Regions from separate parts of the Homo sapiens genome. Here all the other regions are linked to region 7. The links are contacts of gene promoters, found by promoter capture Hi-C in blood cells and fetal thymus (Javierre and others, 2016). All regions are on one chromosome and are shown on one strand. The core of a region is centred on a gene start or on the middle of the fragment in contact, and the rest is flanking DNA. Distances in the headings are between cores, read along the strand shown.

Evidence for each region. The method cuts DNA at HindIII sites, captures the fragments that hold promoters and counts their contacts. A CHiCAGO score of 5 or more calls a contact.
Region 1: a fragment that was not itself captured here is called in contact with the fragment with the promoter of ACRBP in region 7 in 1 of 17 cell types (activated CD4 T cells); the score reaches 6.0 in activated CD4 T cells.
Region 2: a contact is called between a fragment that was not itself captured here and the fragment with the promoter of ACRBP in region 7, in 10 of 17 cell types (non-activated CD4 T cells, activated CD4 T cells, total CD4 T cells and 7 more). The highest score is 20.5, in non-activated CD4 T cells.
Region 3: a fragment that was not itself captured here is called in contact with the fragment with the promoter of ACRBP in region 7 in 9 of 17 cell types (non-activated CD4 T cells, naive B cells, activated CD4 T cells and 6 more); the score reaches 11.2 in non-activated CD4 T cells.
Region 4: a contact is called between a fragment that was not itself captured here and the fragment with the promoter of ACRBP in region 7, in 10 of 17 cell types (activated CD4 T cells, non-activated CD4 T cells, total CD4 T cells and 7 more). The highest score is 12.9, in activated CD4 T cells.
Region 5: a contact is called between a fragment that was not itself captured here and the fragment with the promoter of ACRBP in region 7, in 4 of 17 cell types (non-activated CD4 T cells, activated CD4 T cells, total B cells and 1 more). The highest score is 6.4, in non-activated CD4 T cells.
Region 6: a contact is called between a fragment that was not itself captured here and the fragment with the promoter of ACRBP in region 7, in 5 of 17 cell types (activated CD4 T cells, non-activated CD4 T cells, total CD4 T cells and 2 more). The highest score is 13.1, in activated CD4 T cells.

Annotation. Positions count from the first base shown.
Region 1 is chr12:7,040,279-7,042,978 of GRCh38, reverse strand. It overlaps the pseudogene LOC100419825. Among named protein-coding and RNA genes, the nearest start is that of C1S, 19 kb to the left of the region's middle. The HindIII fragment of the contact is 6,449 bases long and covers 1-2,700 here.
Region 2 is chr12:6,973,237-6,975,968 of GRCh38, reverse strand. It overlaps EMG1 (EMG1 N1-specific pseudouridine methyltransferase), which reads right to left. Exons shown (of 6, transcript NM_006331.8): 2 at 1,529-1,630; 3 at 1,276-1,417; 4 at 821-879; 5 at 591-740; 6 at 1-273. The coding sequence ends at 160. Among named protein-coding and RNA genes, the nearest start is that of EMG1, 3.7 kb to the right of the region's middle. The HindIII fragment of the contact is 838 bases long and covers 832-1,669 here.
Region 3 is chr12:6,927,861-6,930,609 of GRCh38, reverse strand. ATN1 (atrophin 1) reads right to left here and starts at 2,651. Exons shown (of 10, transcript NM_001940.4): 1 at 2,226-2,651. RefSeq lists a silencer at 2,653-2,749. The HindIII fragment of the contact is 3,716 bases long and covers 1-2,749 here.
Region 4 is chr12:7,115,718-7,118,582 of GRCh38, reverse strand. It overlaps C1RL-AS1 (C1RL antisense RNA 1), which reads right to left. Exons shown (of 12, transcript NR_026947.1): 8 at 1-2,865. It also overlaps a transcript of RBP5 not described here. Among named protein-coding and RNA genes, the nearest start is that of C1RL, 7.9 kb to the right of the region's middle. The HindIII fragment of the contact is 2,416 bases long and covers 357-2,772 here.
Region 5 is chr12:7,065,834-7,068,661 of GRCh38, reverse strand. C1S (complement C1s) reads right to left here. Exons shown (of 12, transcript NM_001734.5): 7 at 2,692-2,828; 8 at 2,029-2,144; 9 at 1,545-1,623; 10 at 891-1,019; 11 at 132-206. Among named protein-coding and RNA genes, the nearest start is that of C1S, 6.5 kb to the right of the region's middle. The HindIII fragment of the contact is 335 bases long and covers 1,404-1,738 here.
Region 6 is chr12:7,011,873-7,014,572 of GRCh38, reverse strand. All of the region lies in intron 1 of LPCAT3 (lysophosphatidylcholine acyltransferase 3), which reads left to right. Among named protein-coding and RNA genes, the nearest start is that of LPCAT3, 5.3 kb to the left of the region's middle. The HindIII fragment of the contact is 2,598 bases long and covers 19-2,616 here.
Region 7 is chr12:6,646,047-6,648,746 of GRCh38, reverse strand. It overlaps ACRBP (acrosin binding protein), which reads left to right and starts at 1,315. Exons shown (of 10, transcript NM_032489.3): 1 at 1,315-1,423; 2 at 1,735-1,953; 3 at 2,170-2,264. The coding sequence starts at 1,381. RefSeq lists enhancers at 1,388-1,457, 1,381-1,894. The HindIII fragment of the contact is 16,958 bases long and covers 1-2,700 here.

The sequences.
Region 1 (2,700 bases), core at 101-2,600, 390 kb before region 7:
GTAACAGCCAGGAGGAGCCTAGGAGACATGAAAACTAAACGTAATGTGGTATTCTGGAGGAGGCCCTGGAACAGGAAAACGACATTAGGTAAAAACTAAGGGAATCTGAATAAATTATGGACATTAGTTAATAGTAATGTATCAACATCACTTCCATGATTGTAACAAATGTTCCACCCTAATGTAGACATTAATAATGGGGAAACCGTGTAGGAGCTGTATGGGAATTCTCTGTACTATACGCTCAATTTTTCTGTAAATCTAAAACTGCCCTATAAAAATAAAGTCTATTTTTAGAAAGTTATTCCAGCAAGCAGAAGAAAGATGTCAGACATATTTTTTCTATACTCACAAAAGTTAAAGCATGGACTTTTTCAAAAAAAAGATACAAGGGAGAATAACAGATGCATATTTTTAGAGAGAAAAAAGTGATGTGGTAGAACTTAACTGAGAAATTGGAAATAACAGGAAAGCCACCACAAAAATGAAAAGTTCATTATAGAAACAGCAAGAAGTCAAATACATACTATGAAAACATAGATAGTACATGGAGGCCAGTCTTGAAAAAAATCACCCAAAACAAAATGGAAAAGTGCAAAGGGATAAAATCGCAGAGACGCTGATGAAAATGGATCAAGGAGATACATGATTGGTGTTTTGAGAAAAGAATATAACAACTGGAATGGGAAAGTATTCAAAGATATGGTTGAGTATGGGCATGGTGGCTCACGCCTGTAATCCCAGCTCTTTGGGAGGCCAAAGCAGGCAGATTACCTGAGGTCAGGAGTTCAAGATCAGCCTGGCCAACATGGTGAAACCCCATCTCTACTAAAAATACAAAAATTAGCCAGGTGTGGTGGTGCACACCTGTAATCCCAGCTACTCCAGAGGCTGAGACAGGAGAATCGCTTGAACTTGGGAGGCGGAGGTTGCAGTGAGCTGAGATCACGCCACTGCACTCCAGCCTGGGTGACAGAATGAGACTCTGTCACCAAAAAAAAGTATATATATATATTTATATATTTTTATATATATGGTTGAAGATTTCTGTCAAATAAATGAACTGAAATCTTTAGATAAAAGGGCACTCTTACAGGAAAATAATGACAAAGAATCATTAACACTGAAGCCAATCCTGGAGATCCTAAATGACAAGGATAATGTAAAGAATATGGGACAGTGGTTTCCTTCCCCAAGAGTGTGCAGATGCTTGGGTGCAAAGGCCTATTTCTCTTCAGCCCCAGTTCACCCCACAGACCGAGGGCGGGCCTCGCCATCAGGACCCAGTGGCCATGTCCTGATGCAAGCTGCGACGGTCATTGTCCTCCAGAACAGGGATGGAGAAAATACCAGCCCAGGAAGCAGCAGGCTCACCAAGGGTCCGATTTCAGTTTTTGGAGACCCAGTCTGAGAGTCTGACTCCAAAGCCTCATTTTGTGCAGGACACCGACATGGAACAGGGACTCACTAGGGTTCCACCTGTTCCCCAGGTGCCTGCCTTTCCCCATGAGGACAGCCCAGGAGATCAGGCAGCTGCGCTCCTGACAGCCAGGTATCAGCAGTTTGTGACATCTGAGGATGTGGCTGTGCACCTTACTCAAGAGGAATGGAGATACCTGGACCTTGTTCAGAGGGAACTCTACAGAGATGTGAGGTTAGAGAATTATGGGAATGTGGTCCCACCAGGCATACTTCTCCCCCTTCCACCAGATTCATAGTGTGAATTTTTGCCCGGCCCTGAGTCATACCCAGGCAAGTGCTTTCTCTGGAGAAACTTAGTCCTTACAGCAGGAATCTCCAAGAGATGGCCCAAGTATTACCTGCTCAGAAACTCCTTTTCCATGATTGCCAGATATTAAACTTAACTGATGCGATAGATGCCCCCTAGGATGCCACCACTATGTAAAATCGCAGCTCCTCGAATTACCTTTGTTAAATTTCTAGTATCAGAGTCCAAGGAAGCCCCCTGCTGCAACCAGATGCACTTTGAACTCAGTTTATTCAGAAACCATGGTTGGTGGTCATCTTCTACTTGTGTTCTGAGAAACCACAAAATTCAACTTCAGCTCTTCAGTTATGATATTGTCATATTATTTTAGAATGTGAAACATATGCCGTGTGCCCCTCCTTTTATGTAGTGAATACAACCTGCCCCTTATGGTGGTTAACTCCCTGTCACCCCTGGGCTTTCCTCACGTTTAACACTCTGGTTTTCTCCTTCCTGAAGTCCCTGTGGCCCTCTTCAGGGTCCTACCCTCCTCCCCTTTATTCTTTGCAGTTCTGTACAGATTGATGCACTTATATTGCCTTTTCTGATTAAATGTTCCTTAGTCTTTCCTTGATGGAGGGGAGAAGGGAGGACAAAGAAGTTAAATTTTATTTTGGGGCATCAAAACAAATGTCTACTTAGTAACTTTGTAAACTGTAAAGTGATATATATAATTGTGAAGTACTATTAATTTTACCTAATAATTACAGAGTGTTCAACAGTTTAAAAAAAAAAAAAAGAATGCTGGCCAGGTGCAGTGGGTCACGCCTGTAATCCCAGCACTTTGGGAGGCTGAGGCAGGAGGATGGCTTGAGACCAGGAATTCAAGACCAACCTGAGCAACATAATGAGACACTGTCTCTATAAAAAAAAAAGAATAATGTTATAGAAAACCAAACAGAGAAGCCAGGTGCGGTGGCTCAACGCCTGTA
Region 2 (2,732 bases), core at 1-2,500, 330 kb before region 7:
ACAGTATTCATAGGATAAACAAATAGCAAATGTACAGCCTTGGCTTCCCCAAACTCCACAGTCTCAGTGCAGAAAGATCATCTTCCAGCAGTCAGCTCAGACCAGGGTCAAAGGATGTGACATCAACAGTTTCTGGTTTCAGAACAGGTTCTACTACTGTCAAATGACCCCCCATACTTCCTCAAAGGCTGTGGTAAGTTTTGCACAGGTGAGGGCAGCAGAAAGGGGGTAGTTACTGATGGACACCATCTTCTCTGTATACTCCACACTGACCTAAGAAAAGAACAGTTTTGTCAGCCAACTCTGTCACTCAGTAGCTGTTTCAGCCCTTCTTTAGGGCAGGAAAACTATGGCTGAGCTAGTATTTCAGCTGTGCTGTTGAATATCAAATCCCTACAAAGGATGAAGAAGGTCCTAACTGTGACTTCCAATTATGGCAGCAGCCCTCAAAGGATGTGCCCTGGGGCAGGGTGTGGAACTGTCATGTGTCTTCTAGCTCATTGTAAGCATTGTTAAAATGCCTACTGCTCTGGGAATTCTATACTAAGTTCAGCTCTACCAAGAATTTCAGGGTTGAGCCCAGACCTTACCTTGCCATGGGCAAAGGCCCCTACCACAAAAACAATAGGATCACTGCTGGGCACCAGCTCACGCACATCACTGACAACCGGGATGGAAAAAGAAGTGCCAACTTTCATACATCCAACTGGAAAGTGATCTGATACTGGATTCTTAATTACCTAAAGTAAAAAAGAGAGAAAAGTCAGCCCCAGAAACATTCCCAGAACCAGCCTTCAACTAACAGGTTTCAATACCTCACCTTCAAAAGCTTCTGGGGGCCATCAGCTGCTCGAACACTGAGCTTGTGTAAAAGTTGAACTAGAAGGGGGAAAAAAGAGTTCAGAGCTAGATGGAGACCACAGTCCTTCTGTCCAGTCATCGAACAAGGAAAACCCCATGGATAAGATGAGTTCCCTGTGTGCTTTATATCTAGACTGGACTCCTGAAATGTTAGGAACAAACAGTTGCCAAGCATATGGCTAGCTGTACAGTGATGGGTTCAGACTCCCTCTTTCACTCAGCCAGGAAGCTACTGCAAGAACAGGAGTGGAGTTTCCACAAACATAGAAAAATAATAACAGTCCTTGTCCTGGTATTAATCATGTTGTTCTCCCATTTTCTCGCTTAAAAATCCACATTTAGTTCTCCCTTTTCCTCTTCCTCCCTTCTTCCCTACTGACAAGTTCATTCTAACTTTGTTCTAAGGCTTCTTACCCATGAGGCCACAAAAGCGGTCAAAGGTTCTGGGAATTCGGGTCTGGGGATTCACTTCAATCAGAACATTCTTCTGTGTATGGATATAAACCTGTAGCAAGCCAGCTCGGTTCAGGGGACTATCCATCAGCATCAGCAAACTCTGAGCAAAGCAGAAACCGAGACATGGTTAAGGCTGAAGAGAGGCAGCACTCAGCTGCCAACCCTTCCATACAGAGGCTCAAAGGGTTGTGAGCACTGTCCCTGGAGTTACCTGGTGGGTGATATCTGGCCGCGCTTCCCCAGGGTCCCGTCCATTCTTCAACAATATAGACTTGTGCTTGTCACAGTTGAGTAGCTCATATGTCTTCCCTACCTGAAGAACAGGGAACATGACGAGAGAACAGCATAAGCTTCTGTTACCTAGCCCCGTGGTTCTTCAAGTGTGGTCCCCAAACTACCAGCAGCAGCTGCACCTGGAAACTTGTTAGGCAAATTCTCAGGCCCACCCTAGACCTACTAAACCAGGAACACTGGGGGTGGAGCCCAGCAAGCCCTTCGGGGGATTACTGTGCAGCCTTATTTGCACTCCCCAGTGAATGGTCTGAGAGGGAAACAGGAGGAAGGGCACAACCTGTGACTTCACATTATCTACTAATACACTGGATTTAATTAAAAAACCTGTGGCTGTTAGGCAAGGCCAATGAGACATCCTGGAACTAGGCAGGAGTTAGTAGTTAGCAAGGCTGAATGCTGTGTTTATTACAGGAGCAGTAAGTAGGTACTGTGCAAAATATCGAGTCACCACCCTCAGTTTGCGTACACCAAACATGCACTAAGTGAAGAGCTGCAAATCTGAACAAGAAATGTGAAGGCCGGGCGTGGTGGCTCACGCCTGTAATCCCAGCACTTTGGGAGGCCGAGGCGGGCAGATCACAAGGTCAGGAGATTGAGACCATCGTGGCTAACACGGTGAAACCCCATCTCTACTAAAAATATAAAAAATTAGCCGGGCATGGTGGCAGGCGCCTGTAGTCCCAGCTACTTGGGAGGCAGAGGCAGGAGAATGGCATGAACCCAGGAGGCGGAGCTTGCAGCGCCACTGCACTCCAGCCCGGGCAACAGAGCGAGACTCCATCTCAAAAAAAAGAAATGTGAAAACTAATGATGCAGGAGGCAGTTTAATCAAAGAAAACTCTCAGAAGTAAAAGGAAGAGGGGTTATTCCCAGTTTTAAGACGGGCATGGGGGCAGATGCAGTGGCTCACGGCTGTAATCCCAGCACTCTGGGAGGCCAAGGCAGGCAAATCACTTAAGGTCAGGAGTTCAAGACCAGCCTGGGCAACATGGCGAAACCCCATCTCTACTAAAAATACAAAAATTAGCTGGGCATGGTGGCACATGCCTGTAGTCCTAGCTACTTGGGAGGCTAAGGTGGGAGGATGGCTTGAGCCCAGGAGACAGAGATTGCAGTGAGCC
Region 3 (2,749 bases), core at 166-2,665, 280 kb before region 7:
GTTAGCCAGGATGGTCTCAATCGCCTGACCTCGTGATCCGCCCGCCTCAGCCTCCCAAAGTGCTGGGATTACAGGCGTGAGCCACTGCGCACTGCCATTACCTTACTTTAAAAAGAAAATGATTAAGACCAGACTGGGTTGGGAGGAAAGTGAGAACTAGAAAAAGAGCCCCTAAGTAAGAACAGGAAAAGAAATTAAGAGAGAAATATGGGATGTCAGAAGGAATACAGTGGAGTCACAAGCTCTCTGGGAGGGGCTCGCAGGCTAAATTTCAGGATCATTGGCCCAGCCCCCAACATCATTCTGGACCTGCCAGACTAACAAACCAGTCCAAAGTGACTCCTAGATAACAATGCAGCCCAGACCAGCAGATAACGATGCACTGGCCTAAGCCTTCTGAGAATCCGGGACCTTCAGAGAGGCCTCAGAGATCATCTCATCTATAGCCCCTTCATCTTAACAATGAAGCCCAGGCTCAAAGAGAAGTGACTTGCCCAAGGTCACAGAGGCACAGCCAGGTCTAGACACAGGTCTCCTGGCTCCTGTTCTATAGTATTTCCCCTGCATGAAGCTGTTTCACAGCCCTCTGTCCTGGGCCACCCTCACCTGGGATGGGCCTGGGAGCCCAGCCATTTCTACAAGGTCAGGGAAGAAGGCCAAAGGTTAGTTGAGGGAAAGAGGAAAAGGGTTACTCAAGAAGGGAGGCTCAAAGAGGAATTCAAGTTTTAGAAAATGAAAGAAAGTGCAAAGAAGCAAAAAGACAACTCTACAAAAAATAACATAATAAGGGAGGTAGAGGTCAGAACCAACTGCCAAAAGATGGTGTAACCTGAACAGAAGCGTTTTCATCCTCCCATCATGCCCAGGTGGAGAGACTTGGAGAAACACCTATGATCTGCAAGGAACGTATCTACCTGTTCCAACAGACTTCAACATGAAAGGGTGCACACCGTGGGGAAACTCCCAACCACCAACAGATCCAGAAACAACCTCCAAAACCCAGCCCAGAGTCCCAAGGACAGCCACAGGCTGAGGTCCAATAAACATTCGAAGCCCCCCCAACCAATCTGACATCCCACTGGATCACTACCATAGCAACACAGTGGCAAAAGGTGCCCCTCAAGAGACCATCCCAGGTGTCCATCTGGCAGCTACCCCCTACCCCAGTTGCCAAAGCAACTCCTACCCTCCTATAGCACCTCAGGTAAGGGAGCTTGAAGGTACCTACCCTAGTCAAAATAAGCCCATGCACAAAGGGAGATCTTTGAGCTCAAAGCAGTAACTAAGGCCTCCCTATATAGATCACAGCTCCAGGGGCAGCGGACGCTCCGGAAATTGGAGGGTGGAGGGTGGAGGTCGCAACTTGCCTGGAGTGCCTGTAAGGTTGCTCAATTCTCCATTTCCATCCTCCCAGAACCCCTTTCTTCCCAACTCCCCCTTCTGTGTTCCTGTTTTCCTCCTCACTAGTTTTGGGATAACCCACACTACTGGGCCCCAGTGCCCTCTCCAAGAAATAACTATGTCTGGGATAGGGAAAACAGGGTCAGAGGTGACCTGCAGTAGGGGAATGAAAACCGTCACAAAGACATGGCCTTCCCTCTTCCACGCTGGAAAACCTCCGGCTCTTCTCAAAAATGGACCTCTCTTTGCCCAAGCCTCCGTCTCCCCCAGGTTCATCAGCCACAATCCCTCTTTCCACCTACCACACCCCTTTCCCGTTTCCCACTTCCCGTCTATTCCTAAAGCCCCCAACCCCAGGCTCCGGAACCCGTGTTCTGGTCCTTTGGAGCTTTTTCCTGGAGGCTTCATGCCCCACCTCGCTGCCATCTCTCCTATCCATTCTGCCTTCGCCCGGAACCCCACTCACAGCATCCCCCGTTTTCCTCCGCCAACCCCGGCCTCGATGTTCCTCCTCTTTTGAGTCTGCGGGTCCCGGATACCCTCTGGCCCCACAGGCCTCCTCCGGAGACCCTCCCTCCTTCCCCACCTTCCCGATCCTCCCGAAACCCTGGCCCCCGACTCTCCTCGGCGGGCCCCACCCCCTGAGCCCCCGGCCCTCAGGCCAGGCAGAGCCCGCAGTGGGGGGACGGGATTGGGAAAATAACAAATGGAGGCGGCGGCGGCAGGAGGGGGAACTGGGAGGGGTGGGGGTGGGGAGCCGCAGGCCGGAGCCCGGGCGGGACAGAACCCCGCGGGCCCGGGGCCCAGGCGGCCGCAGACCTTACCTGCTGGTAGCTCGGGACGGCTGGCTGGCTCCGAGCGGGATTCCGGGCTCCGGCGCCTCTGGGGGGCGGCGGCGGCAGCTCCCCCGCCCCCCTCTCCTCTTCTCGGCCTCAGTCGCCGCCGCGACGACGGCGGCGGCGGCCCCGACCCCCCCGGAGGGCGGCCCCCATCCCCCCTTTTCCCCGCCTGGCCCCAATCGCCCGCCGGCCCCCGGAGCAAACCCCGATCCCCGCTCTGCTCCCCACCTCCCCGGGCTCGCCGCCTCCCCCTGGCCGCCCGGAATGCCCCGGGCCGCGCCGCCCGCCCCCGCCGCGCCGCCCGGCCCCGCGGCCCGCCCGGCCCTCGGCGCGGTTCCGACCCGCCGCCGCCCGCGCCCGCCTAGCGCAGCCCGCACCCGCGCGATCCCGGGCCCCTCGGCCGCCTCGCCCGCGGCCCCCGCCCCTTCCCCGGCAGTCGGCTCCCTCTCCCCCCTCCTAGCCCCTCCCCGAAGCCGCGGTCCCTCCGAAATGGCCCGGCCCGAGGCCCC
Region 4 (2,865 bases), core at 315-2,814, 470 kb before region 7:
CTATTGTCGTGTGGCCTCTCCATCCTCTGTTCTATAGAACTGCTGAGAGCCAGCATCTTCCTTTCCCTCTCTGTACACAGAACAACAGCGGTGGCATCTTCCTTGACCCAGGCAGGTGGCACAATGCAGAGCTAAAGGCACCGCTCGAGGAGTCGTGTAACCTCAGGCGAATTCTTTCACTTCTGTGTGCCTGTGCTCCCTCCCAGGCCTGGTCCCGATCCACCTTCTGTCTTGTCTTTCCCACCTGCTCCTCCTCTTGGATTCCTCTCCCTTCCCGGCTGTTTTCGGAAGAGGCTCGCTCATATCCTTGACCCAGCTGTAAGGAAACTATTGTCACCCTTAATGAAACTAAAGCTTATCCTGCTGGGTCCTCATTGGAGCAAGAACCCACAGGTGAAGGGGCAGCCAGGTGGCAAAGCCCCCACCCCAGCCTGTCTCCCCACCACTCCTTCTTTTCTGAGAAGCACAGGTGGGACAAGGTGGGCCTCTTGAATGAGGGTTTATTAAAGTCTTGGAGGAAACAAAAGGGAAACAGAACAGAGAGTTATACTCACCTTGATTATCTGAGGCACAAATGCAGCCTCAGCCATGAACATATTGAAGGAAGGGATAGTCCAGTATGTAACAGACGCACCCTGCTATTGGCAAGCAAAGCACAGATGGAGTGAATTTAAAGAGTCCTTTACTAAAGGACTTTGTTTCAGGACGAAAGTCCACACAGAGCCCACAGGGTGTGGGAGATCTGAGATCTGGAACTGGGATCTCTGGGCTCTGAACTTGTTCTGTTGGGCAATCTGCTGATGGAGACCTTGTCTTCGAGTGTCAGGATGCACACTGTGGTCAGCTCCCCCTAGGTTGCAAAGGGCATTCTATCTGGGACTTGTCTTCCCTGCCCATCTGCTCTCCTTTTCAACAGCTTCTTGGTTCTTTTGAAACCTATGCTGTCTTCCCAAAGCCCTACCTCCTATTGTGTTGGCCTCCTGTAAGCCATGCTTTCATCTGTCCAGTCCTGCTCTTGGTGGGATGAACGAGAGGCCTCTACAGATCTCAAGGTGGAGGAGGAGAGGGTCAGAGCCCCCAAAGGTACTCTGGATTTGGGTAAATGCACCTGAAATACAACCATACCCAGCAAAAATAACATCCTGCTAGCTGATCGTCTGCACTTATTGTACTAAAATAATACATCTACTTCTATGAGAACCAGCGTCCGAGACAGCCACCAACAATACCTGCTTCCCAGTATTCCTGTCCTTGTGATGTCTCCTTCCACATCGGGTTGTCTGTGTGACCAATGGAATAAGGCAGAAATGATGCTACGTCACTTCCAAGGCTGGCTTATAAAAGACACTGTCACCTCTGCCTTGTTCTTTCCACCTTGGGTCACTCTGGGGAAAGCCAGCTGCTATGCCGCGAGGACACTCAAGCGTCCTATGAGGAGGGCCATGTGGCAGGGAACTGAGGCCGCCTGCCCACATCCATGTGAGTGACCGTCTGGAAGCAGACCTCCAGCCCCAGTCCCGCCTCTGGAGGACTGCAGCCTGCACCTGGACCAAAGCCTTGTGAGAGACCCTGATCCTAAACTACCCATCTCAGCCGCTTCTGGATTCCTGACCCACAGAAACTGTGTGAAATAGTACATACTTGCTGTTTTAAACAAAATGTGGGGGTGACTTTTTACAAGCAGACAGATAACTGCAACATAGTCTCAACCTTGAATTTCATTGCAAATGACCCCATCCTGACCATAACCTCAATATTCGCTAAGTGGGCAGAAGAATGGGGTTGGGGGGTGGGGGCAGTAGATGACTTCGGGCAGTAAAAATGTGTCCAGTCACAAAAAGGCATGACTCCATCCTCAGTGCTCACAGCCCTCCCATCCTAGCTCTAAGCTAGACCCTTCCACGAGTCTAGAGAGTGAAGTTCAGAGGCAGGCAGCTGCCCCCTTTCCCTTCCTCTTTGAGGCCCACCCACCTGAGTCCTGTCTGAGGACTGCCTCTCCCCTAGGTAATTGTTAAAAGGAATGTCCAGCATCTTCAGATGGTACCCTGCTCGTTTCAAAGTTGTGTGACCTTACTCTGTGGCTTCAAAAGGACAAAGACATCAGAATACAACTCAATGCACCTCACGCCATTAGACAGCATGAGTGACAAGCCGCAGGGAGGATATATCAGACAGCACCAGATCTTAGCTGGTAGGAAGCTGATTGACAAGTTCTGTGGAGGACAGAGCAGCAGAGCCCTGAAGTCCACAGCAATAAGGGGAAGATGGTGTTCTAGACACACCAGCAGGGAAGAGCCAAACCTGGATGGTCAGTTTGACCTCCCAGGGTAAGGAGCCTCTGGGTCTTCTCTACCTCTCCCAGGACCACCACAGTGAAACTAGAGCCAGAGGGTTCTTTGCTGAAAAGAGGGTGAGTGAGGTGGAGAGATGCAGATGAGAGGAGGCTTTATGCAGAAGCCATCAGGTTGTGCCATATCTAAAGCCTGGAAAAAGGAGGATACCAGCTGATAGGATTTGGCTCTATGTCCCCAACCAAATCTCATGTGGAATTGTAATCCCCACGTGTTGGAGGAGGGGCCTGGTGAGAGGTGATTGGATCATGGGGGCAGTTTCTAATGGTTTAGTGCCATCCCCCTAGTGCTGTCTCCCGATGGAATTCTCATGAGATCTGGTTGTTTAAAAGTGTGTAGACTTCTCCCTTCTTCTCTTTCTCCTGCTGCCATGTGAAGAAGGTCCTTGCTTCCCCTTCGCCTTCTGCCATGATTATAAGCTTCCTGAGGCCTCCCAGTCATGCTTCCTGTTAAGCCCGCAGAACTGTGAGTCAATTAAACTTCTTCTCTTCATGAATTCCCCAGTCTCAGGTAG
Region 5 (2,828 bases), core at 322-2,821, 420 kb before region 7:
TGCCACCTCACTGAGCTGGACTCTGGCAGGTCACTGTTCAGTCCTTTCCCAAGAGGATTACAGTTGCTTTCAGAAGGTGACTCCCAGTCACCCATGGCTATCATCTCTCCCCAAGCCTCAGCCCTCCTTACCTGGAACACATTTCGGCAGCTCCGGGCCCAGCACCTCATTCACCCAGCTCCCGTTACCAGCACAGTGATACTCCCCTGGAATAGCACAGAGAACACAGGCCACACTCACCACCACATCTTCCTTCTTCCATTCCCCCCTCCGACCCCAACACCCTGCCCCGTTCCTTCAGAACCTCAGCTCGTCTAGGATTCAAGTAGTAAATCAGATTAAATCAGCCAGAAAAAAAATATCTTCCTCCAAACAATCCCTCAGGCCTCTAGCCTGCCAGGGAGACAAAGGGAACATCTCCAAAGCAGAAGGAAAGAAGGCATCGGGAAAGTGGCGAAATAAATACAGAGCAATGCAGAGAACGTATTAGGGTCTCATTCAGCCCTGCACCTAGCATGACCAAAGCCTCTACATCAAGAAAGCCAGTCAGTGTAGTTTGGTGGCTTAAAGCTGAAGGCATTGCTCCTGTGGGTTTTACATGAAATAACTGGTCAAAAGGTGGGTAATCCCATGAAATGGATGTTGTAGGGGAATTCCTGCTGCAGCTGTGAACTCAGTTGGTGACCTCTATGATTCCCTGAGGCTGATGCTCCCCTGAACTTGCCCTGCTCCAGATGAAAACTGTATCTTTGGACGAAGCCAAGGGGATGAACAATGTCTGTCCTATCGCCTTCATTTGTCTCCAAACTCTGTCTCTGGCACAGATTATGCTATCCACCCTCCAACACCTTCTCACTCTCTCTCTCTCTTCTCCAGTAGAAGAAACCTACCACCTCCTCCATTTTCCATGTAGTAATATGGCTCCTCACAAGTGTAGCGGATGACAGAACCAAACAAAGTGCTCTCTGGGTCTTCAACTTTACCATTCTCAATGGATTCAGGAATGCCACAGTCCACAGCTACCAGACGAAGGAAGGAGAGCGATGGTCAGGACAGCCACTTCCTCCAAGGAAGAGTCATGGGGCCAGGTTCATCCTCACTGCTTCCCCACCCCATATCCACAGGCACACCTGGGATGAACCTCCCCACACCAGCCTCTCTGTGGCCATCCTCCCCAACTGGCATCTCTCAGCTCTCTCACCCGCTGAGATGCCAATTCAGATGGCCCCATGAAAGCCGTAGTGAAGAGCCTGGTTCTCAGTGGTTGGTGAAGGCCCAGTGGAAGCCACAAATGCACCCACGTGGGGCTACTAACTCGACCTATCCCATAGCCCCTTTCTTGGAAAGAAACATGCCGATCTAGTTGGCCTGGGACCAGATGCGGGGCTGGGACTAGAAAAGCTTCCATGACTGGCTTCCCTTCAAAAACCCAACCCACTCCCTCACATGCCTAAGAGGAAACCATGCATTTGAATTTTGATGTGCTGATCTTTCCATTCTCTCTGAGAGAAAAAGAAAGACTTCCACTTTGAAGAGACACATACGTTGACATTTCAGTTTGGAATTACTCCACTTTCCATTGCTTTGACAAGTCGAATAGAAAGATGTTGCACCAACACGTCCCTGGAGAATAATAAACATCACCACTTATTTCTGAAGAGAGATATGGGAAACCAAAATCAAAACTGGAATTGATCTCTGGCCTTGGATCAATGAGGAGTCCTCACCACAAGAAGCTTGGGAACATCTTAGCAGACCTAAAGCACCCAGGAGATGAGGCTGACAGAAAGCTTTGCCCCAACGTGTCAACTCCCCTTCCTCAAGAAGACTGAAGGCAGAGAGAATGCCAAGCTGGCCAGGCAGCTCCATGACTCACAAGGGAGAACTACAGATCTTAAGCTGTTGTGTTTATGGGAAAGGTGTTATACCTTGATCACACACATACATTGGGTAAACAACTGGACAATTTCAGTCCGCTCATCCTGATCTGGGGCCAGGGACTGGGGAGAAGCCAAGGTGGTACTTTACCTCCACAACTTCAAACCCATCCAGACAGGTTATCTGCACCACATCTCTAAAGACATATTTTGCCTTCGCAGGCTCCCAAACAGAATTGGGAGTGTCTTCCTTAGGGCAGGGCATTGCTTGAAAGAACAGAAGTTGGGACAGGAGGAAAAAATTACTAAATAGTTGAAGACTCTCATTCTATTTACATCATTCTCACACTTTCTAAAATCGTCCAGTTGTCCTCAATCCTGATGCTTAACATTCCAATACAGCAGATGTCTAAAATCATATGGCATTACCAACTAACCACCCGCAAGCTGTCTGCAGTCTCAGGTCTAGTTAAAGGATTACTAGAGGTTGAGGCATTTCTAGCAACCGTTGACTGGTTTAGATTTTCCTGAAGAAGTGAAGTATCTCAGGATTCTATCAGAACAACAATCTATCTGTTTTTTAAATTATTGTTGCTTTGTTTTTGTTTTGTTTTAGAGACAAGGTTTTGCTCTGTTGCCCAGAGTGGACTCAAACTCCTACTTCCTGGGCTCAAGGGATCCTCCTGCCTCAGCCTCCCTCGGTAGCTGAGATCACAGGTGCTTCCAGTGTGCCTGGATCATCTACCTGCTTTGATCCCACATTGTTTGGGGACTTTGGTATCACCAACCAAAGAGGCACTTCTAAGTTACTCACGATCTCCATGATAGCGAAGTTTCCAGCCCTTTTTTTGCCCTGTTAGATCAGTTTGGAAGATGATATCAAGAGCATTACTCTTGGTTTCAATATTTAGAGGCCCAGGGAATCCATGACCACAGTAAGGACCAAATTGC
Region 6 (2,700 bases), core at 68-2,567, 370 kb before region 7:
TCAAAGAAAAAGTAAGCTTATGTGGACTGCTGCACTGGAGTATTTTGAGCAGTCAGAAGACTGTAAAAGGAGTGTGTTTATGTTTGTGTGGTGTATGCTTGCAAGGAGTTTGATGGAAGGATGCTGAAGAGGAATTTTGCCATGAGCCCTGGTGCTGGCAAATACTACCAGAAAACATCTCCCCTTCAACAGCTTGGATCTCATCACTCCTTAATGTAACTAATACCATGAATTGCTCATATAAATTCAGTAACATGCACCTACTACAGGTAAAGCAGTATTCTTAACCCTGCAAGGGCAGGAGCAGTGGGTGTAGTATGAGTCAGGAGCCCTGCACTCAAAGGTATTATGGTCTGTTAGGGTATAGGAAATGGGCCTGAGATAAGTATACTAATAACCCCAATAAATTTTAAGCACCATAAGAGAGGTACAGAGCTTTGTGAGATTTAAAGATGGGACATTTCATTTAAAGATGAGTAAGGTTTCAGCATGCTGAGATGGTAAGACTTAAGGAATAGCATGAGCAGAGGCACTGAGGTGTGAATGTGGCAACACAGCCAAGGAACAGTCAGTAGTCTAGTGTGACTAAAACAGGACTTTAAAGAAGTGATGGAAAATCAGGCTGGAACTGTAGGTTAAAGAGCCTTTAAAGCCAAGGTAAAGAGTTAGTACTCACGTAGGTGATAGGGAACATTGGAGATTTTTGAGTGGGGAATAATATGGCTGGAGCTGTATTTAAAAAGATAATACAGCCTGGGGTGATTTGAAGTCAGCATAGACAAGTAGTAGGGAAACTAAGGAGAAAGAAGTGATCTAGAGAGGAAGTTATAATGACTTGGAGGCAGGGTGGCTGTGCTGAGAGGAGAAAGTGGGCATCTCCTGTGAGATGGTCTAGGAATACCGGAACCTTTTGAAAGGTAGATTCTGTAGACACAGTCATCTACACAGCTGCTCATGCCTGAAACCCAAGAATCAGCTTTGTTGCCTTTCTTCACTCACTCCCCACATCCCAGTCACCCAATCCTATCAATACAACCTCTGGATTGTGTCTCAGATCCATCTACTATTCTCCATCACCACAGCCACTAACCATCTGTCACCAGCACCACCCAAGTAGCCTCCTGACTAGTCTCTAATTCTGTTCTTGCCCCCTCAGTCCACTCTCCAAAAGCAGCCAGAGTGATCCGATCCTGTGCCTCTCCTGCTCAGAACCCTTCAGGGGCTTCCATACCTGGCTGGTAAGCCCCTGCCTGCTGCCCCAGCCTCGTCCCAAGCAAGCTGACAACCTTTTAGCCACATGGCCTTTGTTCAGTTCCTCAGGAAAGGCATGAAGGCTTCCCTACCTCAGAGCCTTTGCACACGCTTACCTGCTGCCTGGAGTGCCCTTCAGTCACCTGACAAACTCCTTTTCATCTTCCTCTGAGTTCTTTCCTGACTCTCATGTTCAATTATGTCCCCTGTTACACTTTCTCATACTGACCGGAATTTCCTTCCAAGTATATATTACACTTTGTAATTATATATTTGTAGATGAGGACAGAAACCATGGAAGTTTTGTTTACCACAGTGTACCCAGAGTTTAACACATTACTTGGCTTGTAGAAAAGGCTCGATAAATACTTGAATAGGTGAATGTATGAATGAATGACTTGGCAACTTATTAGCTGGAGGATAAAGTCGTAATTTTAAAAAGACTCCATCCTCCTGCCTGAGTAGCTGGAAAGATAAGGGTATCTTTGACCAATGCCAGAGATCAAGTGGAGGATCAGATACTCTTAAGTGCCAGGAAATGATCTGGTTTGGGGTTCACTTTAGGTTCCAAGGGCACTTCCAGGTATCTTGGGAGTTGTGAAGCCTGGTCTTGAGCTCAGGAAAGAAGCTGGGCTAAAGACAGAGTTTTAGGAGACAGTATTGGTATCATAACTGACTCAGGGAGGGAATGAAATGCCATGGAAAAGGTTATACAGAGAAGAGGATCTTATTCACGTTGATTGGGTATGTTAATGTTGCTACCCCTTGATAATAGTAATAGCTGGCATTTATTAAGGATTTTCTGTGTACCAGACATTGTCCTAAATGGTCAACAGGCAGTTCCCCACCTAAACCTGCCAGTTACCCGTGAGGTAATTATAGTGCTGTTAAGATCTCCTGGTACAGATAGGAAAGTCAGCCCTACAAAGATTGAGTAAGTCACACTGAGTTCTGCCTGACTCCAGAGTTCCTGCTCTTTACCGCTGAGATTGGGAGGAGCATGTGGGGCTGGAAAAGATAAATGCCCTTGGTGTCCTTTTCTCTTTTCACTCTCAGTGGTTAAACCAAGATGCAATCAGTATATGAGCCACCTCTCAGTGTCCAAAGCTAGAGCTGGCCAAATGGAGCAGATGGCCACCCTGCTTACTGTGAGTGTTCCCTAGTCTTGGCCATGATGGTGGCTTGGCTGTTAGACTGATCAAAAATTGCAGCTGGGGGTAACAATTCATCCCTCAGAGGTTCAGAATTAGCATCACTAAAGTTAGCGACCTTTAAAATCAAAGGAGGTCCTGCAGTTTAGTTCCCTTTGGACCAAAGTCAGGTCTGGCCCTTCAGAAAAAAATCCATTATTCAGTGCAGAAAGCTTTCTTCAGGTAGCACTGGAATCACAATATAAAGAGACCAAAGGTAAGCTAGATGAAAATTAAGCAGCATTAATGAAACAAAGAG
Region 7 (2,700 bases), core at 66-2,565:
AGACAGGGTTTCGCCATGTTGCCCAGGCTGGTCTGGAACTCCTGGGCTCAAGGAATCCACCCGCCTTGACTTCCCAAATGCTGGGATTACAGGCGTGAGCCACCAAGTCTGGCCCAAGACAATTTCTTGTTTTATTTTTCTTTTTTACTTTTGCTTTTGGGTGGGGACAGGGTCTCACTTTGTCACCCAGGCTGGAGAGCAGTGGCCCGATTGCACCTCACTGCAGCCTTGGCCTCATGGGCTCAAGCGATCCTCCCATCTCAGCCCCCCAAGAAACTGGGACTACAGGCACGTGCCACCACGCTTGGCTAATTTTTTGTACTTTTTGTAGAGACGAGGTTTCGCCCTGTTGCCCAGGCTGGAATTTCTCATTTTAAACACAAAACAGATACAAAAGCAAAAGTTCTCCTCCCATACCTCAGTGGACTGTCTTACTCGATTCTCCCTTGGAAACCACTTTCGTAGACCACTGAGCCACCCTCTTGTTTTCCCCTTGGACCCATTTTGCTCATGGAGGCGCCCTGTCTAGTTCCTACCCAGATAGGCCTTGACTTGGTTTTGCACATTCTATCTCTGCCTGCGCTTAGCTCTAGACCTCACGACCTGTTTGTTGGGCGAGTTGCTTCCCTAAGCCCCGATTTCTCATCTGTAAAACGAATGATAGTGTATCTACCTTATGGGATTCCTATGGCAATTACGTAAGGTAGTGCATGTAAAGATGCTAAGTGGCTGGCTACGGTGGCTCACACCTGTAATCCCAGCACTTTGGGAGGCCGAGGTGGGCAGATCATTTGAAGTCAGGAGTTCAAGACCAGCCTGGCCAACATGGTGAAACCCAGTCTCTACTAAAAATACAAAAATTAGGCCGGGCATGGTGGCTCACGCCTGTAATCCCAGCACTTTGGGAGGCCGAGGTGGGCGGATCACAAGGTCAAGAGATCGAGACCATCTGGCCAGCATGGTGAAATACCATCTCTACTAAAAATACAAAAATTAGCTGGGCGTGGTGGCGTGCACCTATAGTCCCAGCTACTCGGGAGGCTGAGGCAGGAGAATCACTTGAACCTGGGACGCCGAGGTTGTAGTGAGCCGAGATCGCACCACTGCACTCCAGCCTGGGCGACAGAGTAGGACTCCGTCTCAAAAAAAAAAGAAAAAGACGCTAAGTGAAGGTAGCTGTTTGCCATTCCTACCATCTGGATGGGCTCTGGCCACTTTAGGGCCCTGAGAGCCCGGCTGTCGAGGCCCCGCCCCGGCCCGCTCTTTGTGACGCGTGGGCGGTGCCCGCGTGCGCCCCGCCCCGCGCCTGCGGCTCTCTCTGCGGCTTGGCCCGTTAGAGGCGGCTTGTGTCCACGGGACGCGGGCGGATCTTCTCCGGCCATGAGGAAGCCAGCCGCTGGCTTCCTTCCCTCACTCCTGAAGGGTGAGAGGTTTACACCTGCTCCAACAGACTCTCCCCGGGCTAGTCCTCTCCCTCCCGAGAGCTCTGCTTTTACGGTTTCTGGATCGCTTCCTCATGGTGGTCGCGCTGGGTCGGCTCCCTAGGTCCTGGGATACTCCCATCTCCCCCCGCCCGCGGCCGGACCTTTGCCTCTGTCTCTAGACTCCCCCCGCCCTGGTCAGCAGGGATAACCCTCACCCCGTTCCTAATTTGCCAGTCTGGGTCTGTCTGTCCTGGTCTCGGAGCGGGTTTTGGGGTTCGGTCCTTCCATCATCCGTTCGCCCGCTCCGCAGTGCTGCTCCTGCCTCTGGCACCTGCCGCAGCCCAGGATTCGACTCAGGCCTCCACTCCAGGCAGCCCTCTCTCTCCTACCGAATACGAACGCTTCTTCGCACTGCTGACTCCAACCTGGAAGGCAGAGACTACCTGCCGTCTCCGTGCAACCCACGGCTGCCGGAATCCCACACTCGTCCAGCTGGACCAATATGAAAACCACGGCTTAGTGCCCGATGGTGAGGGCCAGACTAGGGGGGAAACCGAGGCACCCAGAGTGTTCACCCAAACCTCAGGGCAAAAACCCCTGTGCTCATGTGAGGCGGGGAAGGGCATGGCTGGCACCACACCATGAGCTCGTACTCTCCACCCTCCCCATGGCGTGGAGTCCATTGCCCACAGCCCCACCCCAAGCTCCCCACGGGTTCATCTTCTCCACCCCTGCCCTTTCTCAGGTGCTGTCTGCTCCAACCTCCCTTATGCCTCCTGGTTTGAGTCTTTCTGCCAGTTCACTCACTACCGTTGCTCCAACCACGTCTACTATGCCAAGGTGAGGCCCAGGACAAAGGTTGGATTTGGTGCCCCAGGGCCAAGGGAGAGGCGGCAGCAGTGGGGAGTTGAGGAAGGGTTCCAGGAGAGTCATCCTTAGCTCCTCCTTCCCTGCCATTTTGCCAGTCATTTACCCAGATTATATATGAATACAGTCTCACCTTGGATATTCAGATTGAACAATTCTGTTACTGCAAGAAAAGTAGAGAAGAGACTGGGCATGGTGGCTCATGCCTGTAATCTCAGCACTTTGGGAGCCCGAGATGGGCAGATCACCTGAAGTCAGGAGTTCGAGACCAGCCTGGCCAACATGGTGAAACCCCGTTTCTACTAAAAATACAAAAAAAAAAAAAAAAAATAGCCGGGCTTGGTGATGGGCGCCTGTAATCCCAGCTACTCGGGAGGCTGAGGCAGGAGAATTGCTTGAACCCGGGAGG